4 separate regions of the Homo sapiens genome follow, and regions 2, 3 and 4 are each linked to region 1. Evidence: promoter capture Hi-C in human tissues and cell types (Jung and others, 2019). All regions are on one chromosome and are shown on one strand. Each heading gives the region's core, a stretch centred on a gene start or on the middle of the fragment in contact. The rest is flanking DNA. Distances are from core to core; before and after follow the strand shown.

The links. Contacts are between HindIII fragments. The study calls those that stand out against the background at their distance.
Region 2: a contact is called between a fragment that was not itself captured here and the fragment with the promoter of EXT1 in region 1, in 2 of the 25 tissues and cell types used here (aorta and hippocampus).
Region 3: a fragment that was not itself captured here is called in contact with the fragment with the promoter of EXT1 in region 1 in 2 of the 25 tissues and cell types used here (IMR-90 fibroblasts and hippocampus).
Region 4: a contact is called between a fragment that was not itself captured here and the fragment with the promoter of EXT1 in region 1, in 1 of the 25 tissues and cell types used here (IMR-90 fibroblasts).

What each region holds. Positions count from the first base shown.
Region 1 is chr8:118,110,435-118,114,452 of GRCh38, forward strand. It overlaps EXT1 (exostosin glycosyltransferase 1), which reads right to left and starts at 1,392. Exons shown (of 11, transcript NM_000127.3): 1 at 1-1,392. The coding sequence starts at 612. RefSeq lists silencers at 1,245-1,334, 1,435-1,814. The HindIII fragment of the contact is 7,998 bases long and covers 1-4,018 here.
Region 2 is chr8:118,741,558-118,745,775 of GRCh38, forward strand. No RefSeq gene overlaps it. Among named protein-coding and RNA genes, the nearest start is that of SAMD12, 120 kb to the left of the region's middle. The HindIII fragment of the contact is 3,609 bases long and covers 158-3,766 here.
Region 3 is chr8:118,649,976-118,654,179 of GRCh38, forward strand. The region is part of intron 2 of SAMD12-AS1 (SAMD12 antisense RNA 1); the gene reads left to right. Among named protein-coding and RNA genes, the nearest start is that of SAMD12, 30 kb to the left of the region's middle. The HindIII fragment of the contact is 3,936 bases long and covers 1-3,894 here.
Region 4 is chr8:119,052,874-119,057,279 of GRCh38, forward strand. It overlaps a transcript of COLEC10 not described here. Among named protein-coding and RNA genes, the nearest start is that of COLEC10, 12 kb to the right of the region's middle. The HindIII fragment of the contact is 6,140 bases long and covers 1-4,406 here.

The sequences.
Region 1 (4,018 bases), core at 142-2,641:
GGTGTAGTCAGGCCAAGTGCCGGAATATAAATTAAAAATTAAATGATTCCTACCATTGTTCCACAAGTGGAGACTCTGCACTTTGGATCTCAAATTGTGCACATACTGAGGTGACAACTGGTCTCTGTCTAAAGTATCCAGACTCAGGACAAAGAGGCACGCCTGGCTGGGGTCCGAGGTGTAGAACCTGGAGCCCTCGATGGCCGCTAGAATGTTTTGGTAACTTTCGGCGATTTTCTCCCCTTTTTGCTGTGGGTATACGTAGACTTTGAAGCCGTTTTTCTTGCAAAGGGTGAAATCGAAGCAGGACTCCATGCGGCACTTCTTGCCTTTGTAGATGCTGGAGTTGGCATCTCGCTTCTGCCGGGGGGAAATGTGCACGCTGGAATCCTCGTTTTCCAATTGATCCCAAGGAACGAAGGGGCGCAGAGCGTCCGGGAAGCGGGGCCAGAAATGATCCGGACTGGGGTGGTGCAAGCCATTCCTACCGCTGTGTTCTTCTCTCCGGCTGTGGCTCCTCGATGCCCTAAACTGCAAGCCTCCGAAATAAAACAAAAGGGCGAGACAAGAGCCAGCTGAGAGCAGGATGAAATAGCGTTTTTTGGCCTGCATGTGTCCTGCCTGGGTCAAGAGGATTGTAAATAAACACAAGAATCACCCAAGTTTCCCAATCAACACTTTCAGCTCCAGTCCGCCATCTTCCCGCCTGTAAAGACTTCAAACTCTCCGCTCCCACCTTCTCTGGATGCCTTTCCCCAAGCCGTGGACTGATCCAGCGCATGTGGGCGATTTCTTTAACTTTCTCCCCTTCGGTCTTTCATCTTTGGGTTGCACAATGCACGGGAGAGAGCGGGGCTGAATATCTCGCACCCAGGGCGGGCGAGCAGCGGACTGTAATTTTCTTGCATGCAACAAGACGGAGGAAAAGAAAGAGAGAGGGGAGAAAAAAAAAGCTCCCGATACCCAATCAATGGCAAGACGAAGTGATTGCCTTGCCTCTCGGATTCCTCTCGGCAGCGTGGAAAATGAGCCCCGGGAAGGCAACTTCAACTCATCCACCACTCTCCGTGCAGAGCACTCCGGTTCCAACAAGTCAGCCGATCCCGGGTTCAGCCGGCTAGTGCATCTTGCAGCTGGGGCGCCGTAACCTCACAAATCCCTGCATCTCTCTTTATTCCCTTCTGCAGCGGCTCCAAGACTCCGGCGGTGTTTACTCCTGCGCTCGCGGGGCCGGCCCCCGGGACGCGCGGCGGCCCGGCTGGAGGCGGCGGCGGCGGCGGCGCTGGGTGGCGGCGGCGGCGCGTCCTCCCCGCGGGCAGTGCCGGCCCCGAGCAGCGCTTCGCAGGCCCCCGCGCGAACGCTGCCGACCGCCGCGTTCGGTCGCCGAATGTTACCCGGTTCTGAATGTTACACTTACACATTCCATTCCCGACACGACAGCGCTGACCTCATCCATCCACGCAGCCCGCGCTGCCATTGGCCGAGCGTCACGTCCGGGGGGGGCGGTGCTTCCGCTGCGCCCATTCATAACCCCCGGCCGCGGGCCGAGGCGCCGGCGCGGCGTTGGGGGCGTAGGGGGCGCAGGGAGCCGGGGCTCCCGGGTTGCAAGCTGCCGGCGGGCTGCCGGGCAGGTGGAGCGCGGGACGGCCCGGTGCGAGCCCCGCGGCCCCTCGGCGCGCCCAGGCCCGGATCTCGGCCTGCGCCGTGCCGGGGACCAGAGGCGCCTGCGGAAACGCGGCGGCCGGGGAAGGAGGCACCGGCAGGGGCCCCGTGCCGCGCGGCCCCGGGCGCCCTGGAGAATCTGGCCTCCTGGGCTGCCTGCCGGAACGCCTAGAGAAAGATGCTTTGAAGGAGGGAAGCAGGGAGGAAAGGAAGACTTCATAGAAAGCGACCGCCGATCCGAAAGCTGCCTCTCCCAGCCCTCCTTCCACTCTCCGAGACCCAGTATTTCAATTTTCTGCTAAGCATTAAAACAATCTCCCCTTACTCCTCCTCTACATAGCACATTTTTTTAAACCAAAGAAACACCCCAATGCCCAACAATAAAGAGGAATTATTACAATCAAGAGGAATTGTTGCAATTCTTCATGCCTGCCTCTGTGCTAAGAGTGTAAGACGGCTATCCTAAATCCTCATTATCTACTTAGGCCGCCTTGCCTGAGCCCCCTCTGTCTATTATGAAGAAAGCTTCCAAGAGATCCAATCACAGAGAAAAAATAAATTTTCTAATGGCTGCAGGGAAACCAGTTAATTTAAGCTTGCCCCAGTCCTCAAAGTGATGTTATTCTCTTGGTGGTGGTGGTGGTGGTGGTGGTGTTAAAGATATCTCTTAAGGACATATGACTGGTAGAATTGCCAACTGTCCCAGCTATAGAAGGAACACTTGCATCAGGAAAACTACCTTATGTACAATTAGTGCCAAATAGTTGGTCCTTCCCTCACTGACCTCCCACTCCTTGGCCCAAGCTCCTGCCACTCCCAGTGGAAGAACTTCATTAGATAACTCAGGTAACCGAGGAGCAGTCCCGCTAAAGATCCTCCAGGTCCACAAAGATGTGCTAGGCTCCCAAACAGTATCTCTGGTCAAAGTCAAACTCCCTGGCCTCAGATCCTGAACACTGCTTTACAGAAAACACCTCCCACCCTCTGGCCTAGCTAAAGTCTCAGGGCTCGGGCAAGCTAGACAGTTGCCTAGGGCAGCCGGCTGTTTAGTGATTGTTTATTATGGGAGTGACTGAGAGCTAGGAGCAGACACTTCCCGGCTTCCCTCAGGCTGCAAAAACCCCAGCGGGGTGTGGATGAAGGGCAGGGTTATAACAAGGCAGTATGAAATGATAGAGTGGAAAGTTTCAGACCTCTGTTGTTTCAGATTTGTTTTAATAAAGCAGGGAAGGGGCATGGGTGGGACATTACTATACATTCGTGAAGCCTCTCCCTATTTCTGACCTGCCAAAGATGAGACAGCTTTTCCAGATTTGACTTGAACCCCCTGCACAATGTAGAGAGGCCTGGGACAGGAATAAGGATTCAGTCATCTTCCAAATACAGTGACAATGATGCAGATAAAGGCAGTGATTGAAACCACATGTGACCCAAAGCTCCCCCCAGCCCAAGTTGCTAAGAACAACAGTTCAAGGCAGGAGGCCTTCTCTTCTGATCAGGGTGCAGATTATCTCAGCCCTGTGAAGTGGGGCTGTGGGACTGGAGGTGCTCTCTCTCTCTCTCTCTCTCTCTCTCTCTCTCTCTCTCTCTCTCTCTCTCTATATATATATATATATATATATATATATATATGCTGGAGTGCAGTGGCAGGATCTCGGCTCACTAGAAACTCTGCCTCCCAGATTCAAGTGATTTGCCTCCCTCAGCCTCCGGAGTAGCTGGGATTACAGGTGTGCACCACCAGCCCTGGCTAATTTTTGTTTATTTTTGGTAGAGATGGGGTTTTGCTGTATTGGCAAGGCTGGTCTCGAACTCCTGACCTCAAGTGATCTGCCCACCTTGGCCTCCCAAAGTGCTGGGATTACAGCATGAGCCACCTCGCCTGGCCCCTCTATATCTTGCCAGTTGTTTTGCATGACCTTAGGGGGAGCTAGCTACCCTCCTTGCTCTTTTGTGTTCTGTTTATGTTTTGGCATGTGCTTCCTGCTTTTCTTGCCTAATTATGGCTAATTTCCTTATCCCAGACCCCAGTGTTACCCATCTCTACTTGTACATCCCAAAGTGTTGTGTACTGTCAGAAAAACTTTGGTGCTGACAATTAGAGAAAACTTGAATTCAGACCCCAGATCTGCCATTTACTAGTACCTTGGGCATGTGGCTTAATTTCAGTGGACCTCCAGTTTCTCGTTTGAAAAGTCAGGATAATAATATCTTTCTTGCCAGCAGTTTTTTTTTTCTTTCTTTTCTTTTTAACAGAGTCTTGCTCTATTACCCAGGCTGGAATGTGCAGCAGTGTGGTCTCAGCTTACTACAACCTCCACCTCCCGGGTTCAAGTGATTATCCTGCCTCAGTCTC
Region 2 (4,218 bases), core at 712-3,211, 630 kb after region 1:
TTGAGGGGTAACTTCCACTCCAGCATGCCCCACTGGGATTGGACTGTATTTTTCCTCATCAAACCTTTTGCTTGAGGTCATGCCCATCCTTGGCTTCTTCCCTACTTTATTTTCCTTCTTTTTGTCCCTTATAAGTTTCCTGGAGATCCCATTCTTAATGAACAATTTGCACACAAATTCTTTCTCAGTATCTGATACTGGTTATCCTCACCTAAGACACCAACCAATAGTGCTTGATATCAGAGCTCAAGCTCTTACACATGATCCAATTTGAGATTCTTCCTAAAAAGGTGCCAATTATTCTTCCTTATAAGAGAAAACCTTAATTATAGGCAAATGTAATTAGATGGATAATGTGCACACACATTCCTTCCTTTACGTGTATTTATTAAGTATTTAATATGAGCCAGATTTAATCTAAGTACTGGTGATACAATGTTAAATGAGATAGCAAAGTCTCTGTTTTCATGGCTTTACATTCCAATACTAGAATATAAGTAAAAAAGTGAAAAAAAAGGAACAAGATAATTGCTGATAGGATCAATGGTATGAAGCAAGTAAAATGGAGTTATGAAATCCAGAAGGGAAAGGACTGATTTTCACAGGGTGCTCAGGAAGGTGTACTGGCCTGAGGCAGTGATATTCTCTGTGACACTGAAATGAAAAGAAGGAGCTGGACGTGCAAGAATATGGTGCCATACAGAGAAATAAGCAAATCTGAACTCCTAAGTGGGAGCAGCCTGGGAGAGTTGGAAGAACAGAGAGAAGGCCAGAGTGCCTGCAGTATATTGAGTTGTGGGAAGGGAGGAAGCTGAGAGAGTGAAGAATAAGTAGAGGCAAGATTATGGAAGGGCTTTGTAAACCATGCTATGGGGTTCAGGTTTTATTCTCTGGGTCATCCCTGGAGGTTTATAGTTTAGAAAGATCATTCCAACTGTGCTGCTGAGAATTGAAGATGAAGAGGCAAAAGTGGATGCTGGGACCATTAAATAGGCTATGGTTGTAGATGATAAAGAAAAATGAAAGTGGGCTGGACTCTTGGACTCCTCTGGCCCCTGTAGATAAAGAGAGGTGGAGATAGTTTTGGATTTTGAGGTAGGGCTGCCAAGACATGGAGACGGATTGGGTTTGGTGAGTGAGAGCGTAGAGCTTGCGAGGATGATTTTGTACAATTGGGGTTCAAGCAACTGAGCAGATGTGTGGCCATTTATAAGATGGGGAAGCTTGGGGGAGAAACAGGATTTGGGGATAAGAAAAATTACATTTGTATAAGTGCAGAAATATAATAGTTATTATATACCCTTGGTTTTATAAAATTTGAAATTTGATTCAGTTCCCATAGGCTTTAATGAAGAAATTTGTGTTGATTAACAGCAGACAGTGCCTTCAGTGTTGACTTTATTGCTTCTACAATGAATAAAGCCCTTTCAAGAAGTTTAGTTTTATTCCGCTATCAGGGTGTTCTCTATGGGAAATTCTTCCTTGTTGTCTATTCACAATTATACAAGGTCCCATTCTTTGACATGGAAATAAGCAGCAACGCCCACTGAAGTCAGCAATAGAAACTTGGCTTCCATTGCCACAAATTGTGCAGGTCCACACATCCTGAAGATAAGACTTGGAAAGAAAGTCAGGACTGAGCAAAAGTGCCTGGCTCTGATTTTAAAGGCGAGCTCATATAAACATCTCTTACGCATGATTCTGATCCTTAAACATTGAGGCATGGCTTTTATAATGAGAAAAAAAGTCTCTCATCCCCTAAATGTCAGTGCTTATGTTTTGGTCACTTGGGTTCCAAAAAAACACAATCTTTTAAAGAGAAAAATGTTACAGACATTGTCAGTATCTTAAGGAAGATCCCTCAACCTGTCATTGGTGTTAGTGTCCACACACAAGTGGCTTCACAAGGTAGGAACTTGTTGCTGGAGTCAGTGAGGTTTGGTTTCTCATTTTATGCTACTGGGTTCTGCTGTGGTCATAAGGGTAGTAGCTGATAATCCCATTTCCTCACTGTGTTGAACACTTGGAAGTCTGCCATAAACCAATTTTCTGTTTTTCTTTAGCTTTTCCAGAGTAAAAGAATTTTTTTTTTTTGGTGTTGAAGATGGACAAGGTTTATAACAAAACTTGTTCTTCATTTCTCCAGAGAAAGCTTTTGTTTTCCAAACAAGTACTTCTTGATTATTTTACCAGGGAGTGCATGGTTACCATCCTGTAATGTCAGCCCCATGCCAGCAGATGGCAGTCACACCACACCACGCTGTGGCAATCAGCTAAGCTTGAGAACACCAGGAATCTGTCCTTTTCACAGAGGAAGGGTCTGATGTGCTCTGTGCCATGGCAGGAGGGGTAACTAGCACGGAGATGAATTCCAGAGAACTCACTACATAAGTCTATAAATTTGTCCCTAAACTTGAAGATATTCTTAGTTGAAAAAGGAAACAAAACAGAGGGAAAAACAAACAAACAAACAAACAAAAACCCAAACCTCTAGCTAAGTCTGTCAAAATGAGCTATGAGGTGGACAACCCAAGGTCTTGAGCTTATGCTGGGCTTTGTTTCACTGATACATGGATCAATATAATCATAGTCAGGGAGCTGGCATGAAAGCAGAATGGCTGAGAAAATAAGACTGGAAACGACTAACTGCAAAAGTATTTTATTTTCAGGAGGATTAACTGCTTCTGGGGTGGCTGAGTGTGGTAGAGGAAAAACAGAAGAAACTCCAAGGTGAAATTAGAAATCTTAGAAGAGCTCTTCTTTCTCCCATAGAGGTAACACAGTATTTCCAAGAAATTATTGATAGTAGGAATAAGGATTTCCCCCAGACGGAAAGGAGACATTGATGTACTGCGGGCATCCCAACTTCTACCTCATCATGCGTTTCTGAGTTTCTTCCACCATGACCCTGATGGTTTTGGTTACTCTCTCCTTCCCACTAGTTACGTGGTTGCTCTGCTTTTAGTTGAAGTTGTGCTGACTTTGGGATAGGTGTAGGGTTAAATGGTATCAAGAGGACATTCCTATTTATTGACCTACAATGTGGTTTCTGTACCTGAGCAAAAGACATATTTTTTCTCTATATTTGAGTTGGTCTTTTGAGACCGGCAAAGCTGTGGAAACAAAGCTTTGCTTAAGGAAAATGGCCACAATCTATTGTTAGAAAGAAGCCTCAAGTACCATGAAAATGGACCACACAGGTCAGGGATTTCTCAAAATGTTTCTTTTCCCAGGAAAATATTGAAACTAGGACTATTGTGGAATTACACAGTTTATGATTGCCACTTATGAACTACACCGGAATCAGGCTTGAAGGGTTCTGAACCATAAGAAACTTCCTCTGGAAATGAATGTGGTAGCTGAGTCCACATGTGTGGGAGGCCAACTGCATAGCTGGGAGTTGTCACAATTAACTTCTGCAGATAATTCCATGTTTATTAAATAAGTGATTTAAGTGTGACACTATTGTATGTGCAATGTCTCTTTTCTATCTGGTGGAAATTCTTATTCTTACTATAAAGAATTCCTTTGGAAATACTGTGTCATTACACAGTTTATGATCAATGGGTTATCATAAACTGTATAACTATCTGCAGCTATTTACAGATAGTTGCTATCTGCAGAGCTATCTGCAAAACTGTGATGTAAAACCATAAAGGCATTCGCAGCTTATTGTTCCTATTGCCCTTTCTATGTTTGTTGAAGGTTGAGGGTTTGCTTATTTTCCATCCTAGTAATTGGATAGTTATATGATCATCCATCCATATTTGAGTAGAGGTCGGATACATATGTCCTCAGTGTTCCAGCCAAGGTCTGGACAGTGGAAACAGTCCATTTGGGGTGCAGACAATGAGGGGGTACATTACCCATACATAACTTAAATACGCAATAAAATTGACTAAAATTTAATCTGCTTTTAAATAGTCACCATGCTCAGAAATTCTTAAGTACCATTAATGAAAAGATCTTTTTCTGGTCTAATTTGCAAACATTTGCTGTGATTGCAGCTGTGTTTCAATAATATATATGCGTGCTTCAAATTAGCACATTTAAATCACTTATTTAATAAACATTGAATTCTCTGTGGAAGTTAATTGTGACAACTCCCAGCTATGCAATTGGCCTCCCACACATGTGGACTCAGCTACCACATTCATTTCCAGAGGAAGTTTCTTATGGTTCAGAATCCTTCAATCTTAATTCTGGTACAGTTCATAT
Region 3 (4,204 bases), core at 677-3,176, 540 kb after region 1:
GCTTTGGGAGCCTTTGTGTGATTAACATTTCAGCTGTTTATGGAGTCTTTGCCCTATTATTTCCTGTTTTAAAAATTAATGTGCTGGTTTCTTTATTATTAAAAACCAAGAAAGGGAAGTTCAGCTGGAGCACAGGAAATAGTTCTATGTGATCCAAATATAAGTTTCTGAGTAGGGAGGATATTTGGAGGACTCCTGTTTTACTTAGATGTTCTTTGAGTTCCCACAACTTTTTATTTTGAAGTCATTGCTCCCCAACTCTACCCCCAAGCTCTCTGCCCCTCTGTCCTTCCTATCCCTAGATCTGAATGGAGGAAAGACATTCGAATCAAAGGCATTATGACTTATAAACAATGCCAATGGCAGTTTACATGACAGAATCATAAAAACCCATTGACTTAGAGAGTTTTTCAGTCAGAAGAAATCTTGGAGGGCACGTAGTTTGATCCCCTCATTTTACAGATGAGAAAACTAAGGCTTGGAGGTTTTTTGTTTTTTTTTTTTGAGATGGAGTCTTGCTCTGTCGCCCAGGCTGGAGTGCAGTGGCGTGATCTTGGCTCACTGCAACCTCTGCCTCCCGGATTCAAACAATTCTCCTGTCTCAGCCTCCTGAGTAGCTGGGACTACAAGCATGTGCCACCATGGCCTGCTAATTTTTTTGTATTTGTTTTAGTAGAGATGAAGTTTCACTATGTTGGCCAGAATGGCTTGGAGGTTTAATTGCTCAAGGAGACACAGCTAATCAGTGCCTAACTTTTCTCTGAAAGAAACTGGATTTTGGCATACTTTCCTCAAGTATTCTGAATCTATTATGTTTATTTTCTATGTGTAGAAGTTTAAGAACTCTTGAAATGTAAGGATCAAATATTCTCTTCTTAGGGATACACCCCAGTATAGATGTCATCATAGATCCTGATGATGTGTAATGCTGTCACCAATTGAACTTCCACAGGGAATGCAAAGACCTAGTTCAATAAGAAGGAAAGATTTAGATTAGATTTAAGGGGCAGAAATATCTCAGTTGCAAGCACTAGCTGTCATGTGGGATTGGGAAATAACATTCTTTAAGGATCATTGAGGAAACTATAGATTTGTGCATCCGTCACATGGGTTTACTCATTATTTACTTGGTATCACTCATTCTCCTTTATCTACTATCCCAGTATATTTCTGATGACTTGCATTTCTATATTAGGACAGTCTGGATTCCCTTCTCCCAAGAGAAAAAAAGAAATTCTTTGTAATCAACTTGAGAGTATAGTGAAGCTTTTGGGTGGATGGAGCATTTACTGTGTGTGCAGAAAAGTTAACAAAGCAGGCCTGAGACTGCTATCCTTAGACTGGCCCTTGACTGGCATCTGGAAGCTTGGGTAAACAGTTTCCTGCACTGATATCAATGGCCCCTCACTGACAAAAATGGCTCGGTGTGCCTGAACTGTTTGTACAATTTCATTCATGTTGAACACCTGCTTTCCTTCTGGGATTCTGGATTGGGTACATGCTAGACAATGAATTCTTAAGGGACCCATCTCCCAATAAAAACCTTGGGCACTGAGTCTCTGGCGAGCTTCCCCAGTAGACAGTTCAGGCATGTTGTAACAATCGTTGCTGGAGGAATTAAGCACGTCCTGTGTGACTCCACCGGGATAGACACCTTCAAAGCTGGCATCTGGTTTCCTTCAGACTTTGTATGACAAACTTTTGCCTTTTGTTGATTTTGCTTTATATCCTTTCACTGTAACAGCTCTTAGCTGTAAGTACAACTGTATGCTGAGTCATGTAAATCCTTCTAGCAAATGATCAGACCTGAGGCTCGTCCTTCTGGGGAAAATATGCATTTTCTGAGAGGCTTCCCTAGTACCACACAAGCAGCAGGCCCTTGCTTTAGGGAAATCAAGTTCAACAGCCAATATGAAGAAAGACAATCCACTATAAAATACTCAAATAAAGTGTTATTTCTCTTTCAAACCCATTTCCCTCTGCTTTGCCTACCAACCCACTCCATATCCCTTATATGTTCTCTTTTAATTTTCTACTTTACTTCTTTTCTTCTTCTTCTCCATTGTCTTAGGATCTATCTGCCCTATCTTATATTTTGTACTGTGAATTATATGACAGAAGAGGCTATATAAATAGCAGAAAAAAAAGCAACAGATGTGTGTGGAGACTCCGTTTTGTGCTCAGGAATGTTGTCTTCTAATTAAACTAAAATCACTAATAATTTAATCCCTCAGTTTTCTAGTCTAATAAATAGGGCTACCAACACCGGCCCGTCTTGCATCTGTAACTCGAGGGGATCAAATGAAATAATTTTTATGCAAGAATTTTAAATACTTGAGTTACATTAAAAGCAGAGACTCATTAGTCTCTTGGAGTTCTACACAAGTGGGTTGCATGAGAAATCTTTGCTCATGACATTTGGGCATCCTTTCTGTTTATTCAGAAAATGACAGACAAGAGAAAAGATTCTCAATGAGGAAGGGCCACAGGAATAGTTATACATGAGAAAAAGAAGGTTTGAAGAAGGCTGTGATTGTCTTCAAATATAGGAAGGACAGATATGGAGCAGGAGCAACAGAATAATTCTATATGACTCCACAGGATTTAATCAGGACTAATGGGAAAAAGCAAGGAGGAAGAAGAGGAAAGACCCGGCTGAGGCACCAGGAGAAGGGACGCACAAGAACCTAGTCATTGGAGCTGTTCGAGGCCAGGTTGAACCACTGCCCACGGCCAGTCTCCCATGTTGCATGCAGATTTATGAATGAACTTCTTTTGTGAACCACCCCCACAATGTTTGCAGCAGTGCTCTCTGTACTATTATTTACTGGATCTTTTTCTTTAAATAATTCATTTATTTCTTATTAGGTACATTTATTTTGCATATTTAATGCTAATTTTTGTAATACACATTAAAATAAAAGCGTAACTATAAAAAACTTACATTTGTCGGTAAACCCCAAACTAGATGCCTTTGAAACCTAGCATTACATAGAAATTCTTAAGCCAAATGAAAGACAAAAACAAAAACAAAACTATGTATGTGGGATCCTGACCCCTAGTCCTGTGAACCCCTGGGTCACTTGACTTCGCATAGTCTTTCTTGAAGGAAAGGATATTGCCCCATTTGTGGAGTATCACCCTGTGTCTCCTCATAGGAGATCATAAGGCCTTCCTCTTCCATGGATGAATTTGCTCATCACCTCGCAGCAACCTACCGGGACAACCAGGTGTAAACCAAGACTAAAGCAAATGGGGATGTATGGTAGCGCTACCTTGTCCTCACCCTCACTGCCGTGGTTTTGTACTTCCGAAATAAAGCATCAGCTCTTAATTATTTCCTCTGGCTCAATTTTCTAGGGATCAAGCAAAGACATCCCTTTCTCTCATATATACACTTGGTCTGCGGAAGTTATGATTCTGCCCGTGGGATCACAGTTGATTAAAGGCATCTGAATCAAGATAGATCCGTTTCCTTCTTGTTGGAATATGGAATTTCAACCTAGAGAAAAATGTGTTAGTTTGATAGGACTGCCATAACAAAGTTCCACAAGCTGGATGGCTACTGGAGAGGAGCAGTGATTAGTTTCTTTCAGGGTCTGAGCAAAAAGCAGATTGCAACTATATACTCGATGAAAAATAAGCAGTGGCTAAATTAGAGGAAACCATAAAGCAAACATCTTAAGTAGAAGCAAATACCTGAAGCAACGGACCTTTATTAATCAAGGCTGTAGACAGATGTAGGAATTTTATAATACCTGTTGATACTGTAAGTGTACCTTGGTATGTTACTTAATGGAGAAATGAAAACCATGTTTAATAAAGCAATGTTGGAAAACAGCTTCATCAGTCAGATTTACCTCCTTAAACTCTGGGCCAATTTAAGATCTTTGCAAGCCTTAGGCTCTCATACTTCTGGAGGCCCACATCATATCAAATACATTTTCATAAGGGAAATGAAACATTTTAATTTATATATAACTGTCTTAAGATTTGTCTTTGAATAGTTAAAAATGATACCTTCTGTAGATTTAATAGTAGCATTTACTAATTCCTATTTTGCAATTTCCTTTTCCAATTATAAACTAGATACTTTTTTTGTTGCTTTGTGTGCATGTGAGTTTTGAAAATTTTATAGGCCCTAGGCATTGTGCTTTTGGTGTCTAGTGGAAGAAATGGATTTGTTTGTGTCTTAATACTTAAA
Region 4 (4,406 bases), core at 939-3,438, 940 kb after region 1:
AAAACAACAAAAAGATTTTAGAGTTTCTTTGGCAGCCAAAGAGAGCCGGAGAGGAAGGGAATCTGGGAACCAAGAAGAGAGGGGAAGGCATAAAATTCCAGAGAAAAACGTGGAGGAGGAAAGTCCTGAGCGAAGACGGCAAAGAGGAAATTCCTAGTGTGATACTGGCTAGAGAATTCTGATGAGCAGGAATGCCTCCTACTCAATTTTAAGTGGTTTGATTTGATGTGCTCTACAATAATAACTCTGTTATCCTCAACACTTCAGTGGAAAAATGCTGCATAAAACTGCTTTATATTGGGATGCTTCAGGGAAACCGTAAAAGGGGGGACTATGTTCTATCTGTGGGTGAGAGCAGGTTGGAGAGGTGAAATGAGCTGCAGGAAGAGAGGGTCAAGATGCTAAAAAGAGATGAGCAGCAGTGAATAGGAAATAAGTCTTCAGGAATTCTCAGCAATCTTAGTAAGGGCAATACGCTAGCAAAGTTTGCAAGGCAGAAGCTCAAGGCTGTTTCATTTAAGGATGAAAGAGCATTATTACTCCTCAAAGCAGGAACACTTGAGTACCCGAAGGTGTCTGGCACCTGGCTTCCACATTTCCTAACATACACAGTGTGAAGGATTGCATTTGAGTTAGTGAGCAATAGTTCTTAGCAGGTGCTGTGCAGTGAACAATCAGGGTTTAAATCCTCACTTCACTACTTTCCTCTGAAACATGAAGTCAGTTACTAAACTCTTCTAAAGTCCATTCTCCATTTGTGTCTCCAGATGGTAACAGTGCCTCTCAGGATTGTAGGCAATTAAAAAAAAAGGTGGGGGGGGCTTATTTCTAAAGATCTCTAATATGATAGCTTGCACACAGTTAAACTTACAAAATAATCTTCATTCTTTCCTTCAGTTCTTGATTTAGTCTGTTGACTTCAAATAATTTACAGTATTCCCTTCTTTATCCACGGGGGATACATTCCAATTGGATACTTGAAACCGTGGATAGTATTGAACCCTATATATACTATGTTTTTTTCTATACATACATAGCTATGATAAAATTTAATTTATAAATTAGGCACAGTAAGAGCTTAACAGCAACTAATAATAAAATGGAACAATTAAAACAACATGTCAGCATCACTATTCTTGTACTTTGGAGCCATGATTTAGTACAATAAGCGTTACTTGGACACAAGCTCTGCAATATTACAACAGTATCTCTCATCTCCAAGATGACTACTAAGTGACTAACGACCAGGTAGCTAGTCAGAATGGATAGGCTGGACAAAGGAGGGATTCATGTCCCAGGCAGAATAGAGTAGGATGATATGAGATTTCATCATGCTACTCAGATGGCACCCAATTTAAAAACCTATGAATTGCTTATTTCTGGAATTTTCCATTTAATATTTTCAGACTACTGTTGAACTGAAACCATTGAAAGTGAAACTGCAGATAAGAGGAGACTACTGTATTTTAGGAATGCAACTTGTAAATGTCATTATTTGCCAGGGGAATTCTTCAGATTGCAATAATCAGATTGCAAACAGGTCATATAAAGACGTTTGTATTTTAAAAGATAAGTGATGATGATATTCATTTAGGAAGCATGTAAGAGATAAAGAGTCACTTAGCAGAGATGCCGTGGGGCTGGGATTGGTTAGAAGAACGGAACACAAAACCAATTTTGAGTTGAGCTCGGCGGTACAATACTAAAACATAAACCTAGTTATATATCCTTATGGCATCTGAAATCACTCACATCATTCTTACTGGGTCCTGTCCCTAGATTCTTGCTTCCATTTTCTGTGATGTATTCTGGAATGATGCCTCTGGAATTAACATGTTTTTAAAAATGTTTGCAACAAAATTATTGTTTTTAAACAAAAGTGTTCCTCAATGTTGTATAAATTGTGACATGCCCTTCCTTATAAGCTTTTGAATCCTTTCACATAAAAAGTAATTATGTGTATAAAAGACTGCAATATCTATGAATGTTATGAAGTAGAAATTTTAGTCATTTATAGGAACATAGAAAATGAAGGCTATTTTCTTGATGATTAAGTTTAGATCTTCTCGAAAGTAATTTATGAAAATACATTTTGAGAATTTTATATGATGTAAGCGACCCAAATCTGTGATGTGAATTATCTAAAACATAAACAAACCATTAAAAAAGAAACAGATTATTTATTAGGCACATGCTTTTCAGTAGAGTTGAAATAAATATTTATCTCCATAAAAGCAGAAAACATTTTCCCAGGAATGGATTGTATTCTGTTTTATCAGTTCAGCAAATGCCTGATAGCCTTTCTTAACTTCTCTGTGTTGAGTATCAAACAAATACAATAGGTCAACCACTCACTGTTCAGTGTGTGGAAACCCTACTGATTGAGGCTTCTCAGAAGCAAGGGGTAAAGGAAGAACAGGAAGTGGCAATGACCCTGAAGAACACTCATCTCTGACCTCTGTGTATAGCAATGAGAGAGAAAAGCGTGCTCTTTAGTAACTCAATCTTTATTTTCCTATTTCTCAGGAGCCCATGTACTGTAAACCTTTATTTGACCTGTCCCCACAAGGTTAGCATGGGTCACAGTCTCCACATTTGCAAAATGGTGAGCTTAGATACAGAATAAGTAAATACTCATCCCAGGAGCAAAATTTGTGATGGCATTGAAAGCTGGCTCCATGCCTCAAAAATGTCAAGTCACAACTCAGGTTTAACAGTTTCTATTACACATATTCAATTTAATCAGCTATTTGTCTTAGAGAGCATAAAGCAATTTAAAATTGATCATGTGTTAGAGCTGACTACAAAGAATAAAAATGCCTTGTCAAAAAGAGAAAAAAGTGCTATTAAGTATCAATTTCCTTTTTGCACTGCCAAAACATCGAAGAATCTTCCAGTTATAAAATCTGAACATGCTTCCTCTTCAGAGTTGACACTTTACCAAATCCTATTCATTCTGTCTTTAAAATACCTTGACTGTTTTTTTCTTCTCAGTTTCTATTTTTTGAGCTCTCATTCACTCCAATGACTTTAATTACGACTGATATGTAGATGACTTTCTAATCTGTACCTCTGGCTGGAATTTTTTTGAGCCAACAGACACCAACTCCACGTATCCAAGATTCAATTCATCTACTTCTCCTCACAATTTGCATTCTTTGTTTCAGTAAATGACACCGCATCCAATTGTTTAAGGCAGGAACCTGGGAATCATCCTGATTTCTTCCTCTTCTTTACCCTCAATTTCCAAAGAATCAATAGATCTTGTCACTTCCACTTGTGTTAATACCTCGAATTGATTTGCTTCTCTGTAACCCCATTGTTGCTGATAATGTCCAGGGTACCCTTAAAAAGTCAAGCACTACAGGTTGCCTACTCAATATCTATTCTTGCTTCCATAGCCTTGATTTACCTAATTAAAAATGTTTAATCTCTTAGTTTCCCTTGCTGCTAGCATAGGACATAGTTCTGGACAACGAGATGAAAGTGGATTTTACCCCAAAAGTTTTCTGGGAAAAACTCCTTAAAAATTGATTAACTTAACTGTCTTGTTTCATCAGCTCTTGATCCACAACCTTTCCCTTCATGCCTAGAATGTAGATGCAATGTCTGAATTGTAGCAGCCCTTTTGTGAGTACAAGGAGAAAAGCTCCATGCAAAAAATAGTAAAGCCAGAAGGGAGAAGTCATGGTTGCTGGCAGTAACACGGTGCTACTATGTCATGATTATCTGTGTCCATATTCCTTATTATCTGAACAAACAAACAAAACAAAACACCTCATTTCATAAAGTCAGTAAGCCACTGTTACTGGGTTTCTATTACATGAAGCCAATGAAGTTGTACCTCTGTCACATTTCTCATATCCTCCATTTTATTTCTAATATTGGCATTCTTTTTAAAAAAAAATCTTCACGGGCCACGATTGCCCTTATGATAGTTCCAAACTCCTCAGCAGCATGTATAATGCCCTTCAGGATCTAGTCCTTAACTCTAGGTTAAGCCTTATTTATCCCATCAAGTTCCAACCTCTATGCTCAATCAATTATACTTTCAGTTCCTCAAACACATCATTCTCTCAACTAAGACTTAAATGTGCTATTCTGTCTATATGGAATATTCTTCTTTTATTCCTCTCCCACTTTACTTGGATAACTGACAAGTTTTCTAAAATCCTGCTGATATGGTTTGGCTCTGTGTTGCCACCCAAATCTCATCTCAAATTGTAATCCCCACGTGTTGAGGGAGGGAGGTGACTGGATCATGAGGGCGGTTTCCTCCATGCTGTTCTCATCATAGTGAGTGAGTTTTCACAAGATCTGATGGTTTTATAAGTGTTTGACAGTTCTTCCTTCACTTGCTCTTCTTTCTCATGCCTCCTTGTGAAGAAAGTACTTGCTTCTCCTTC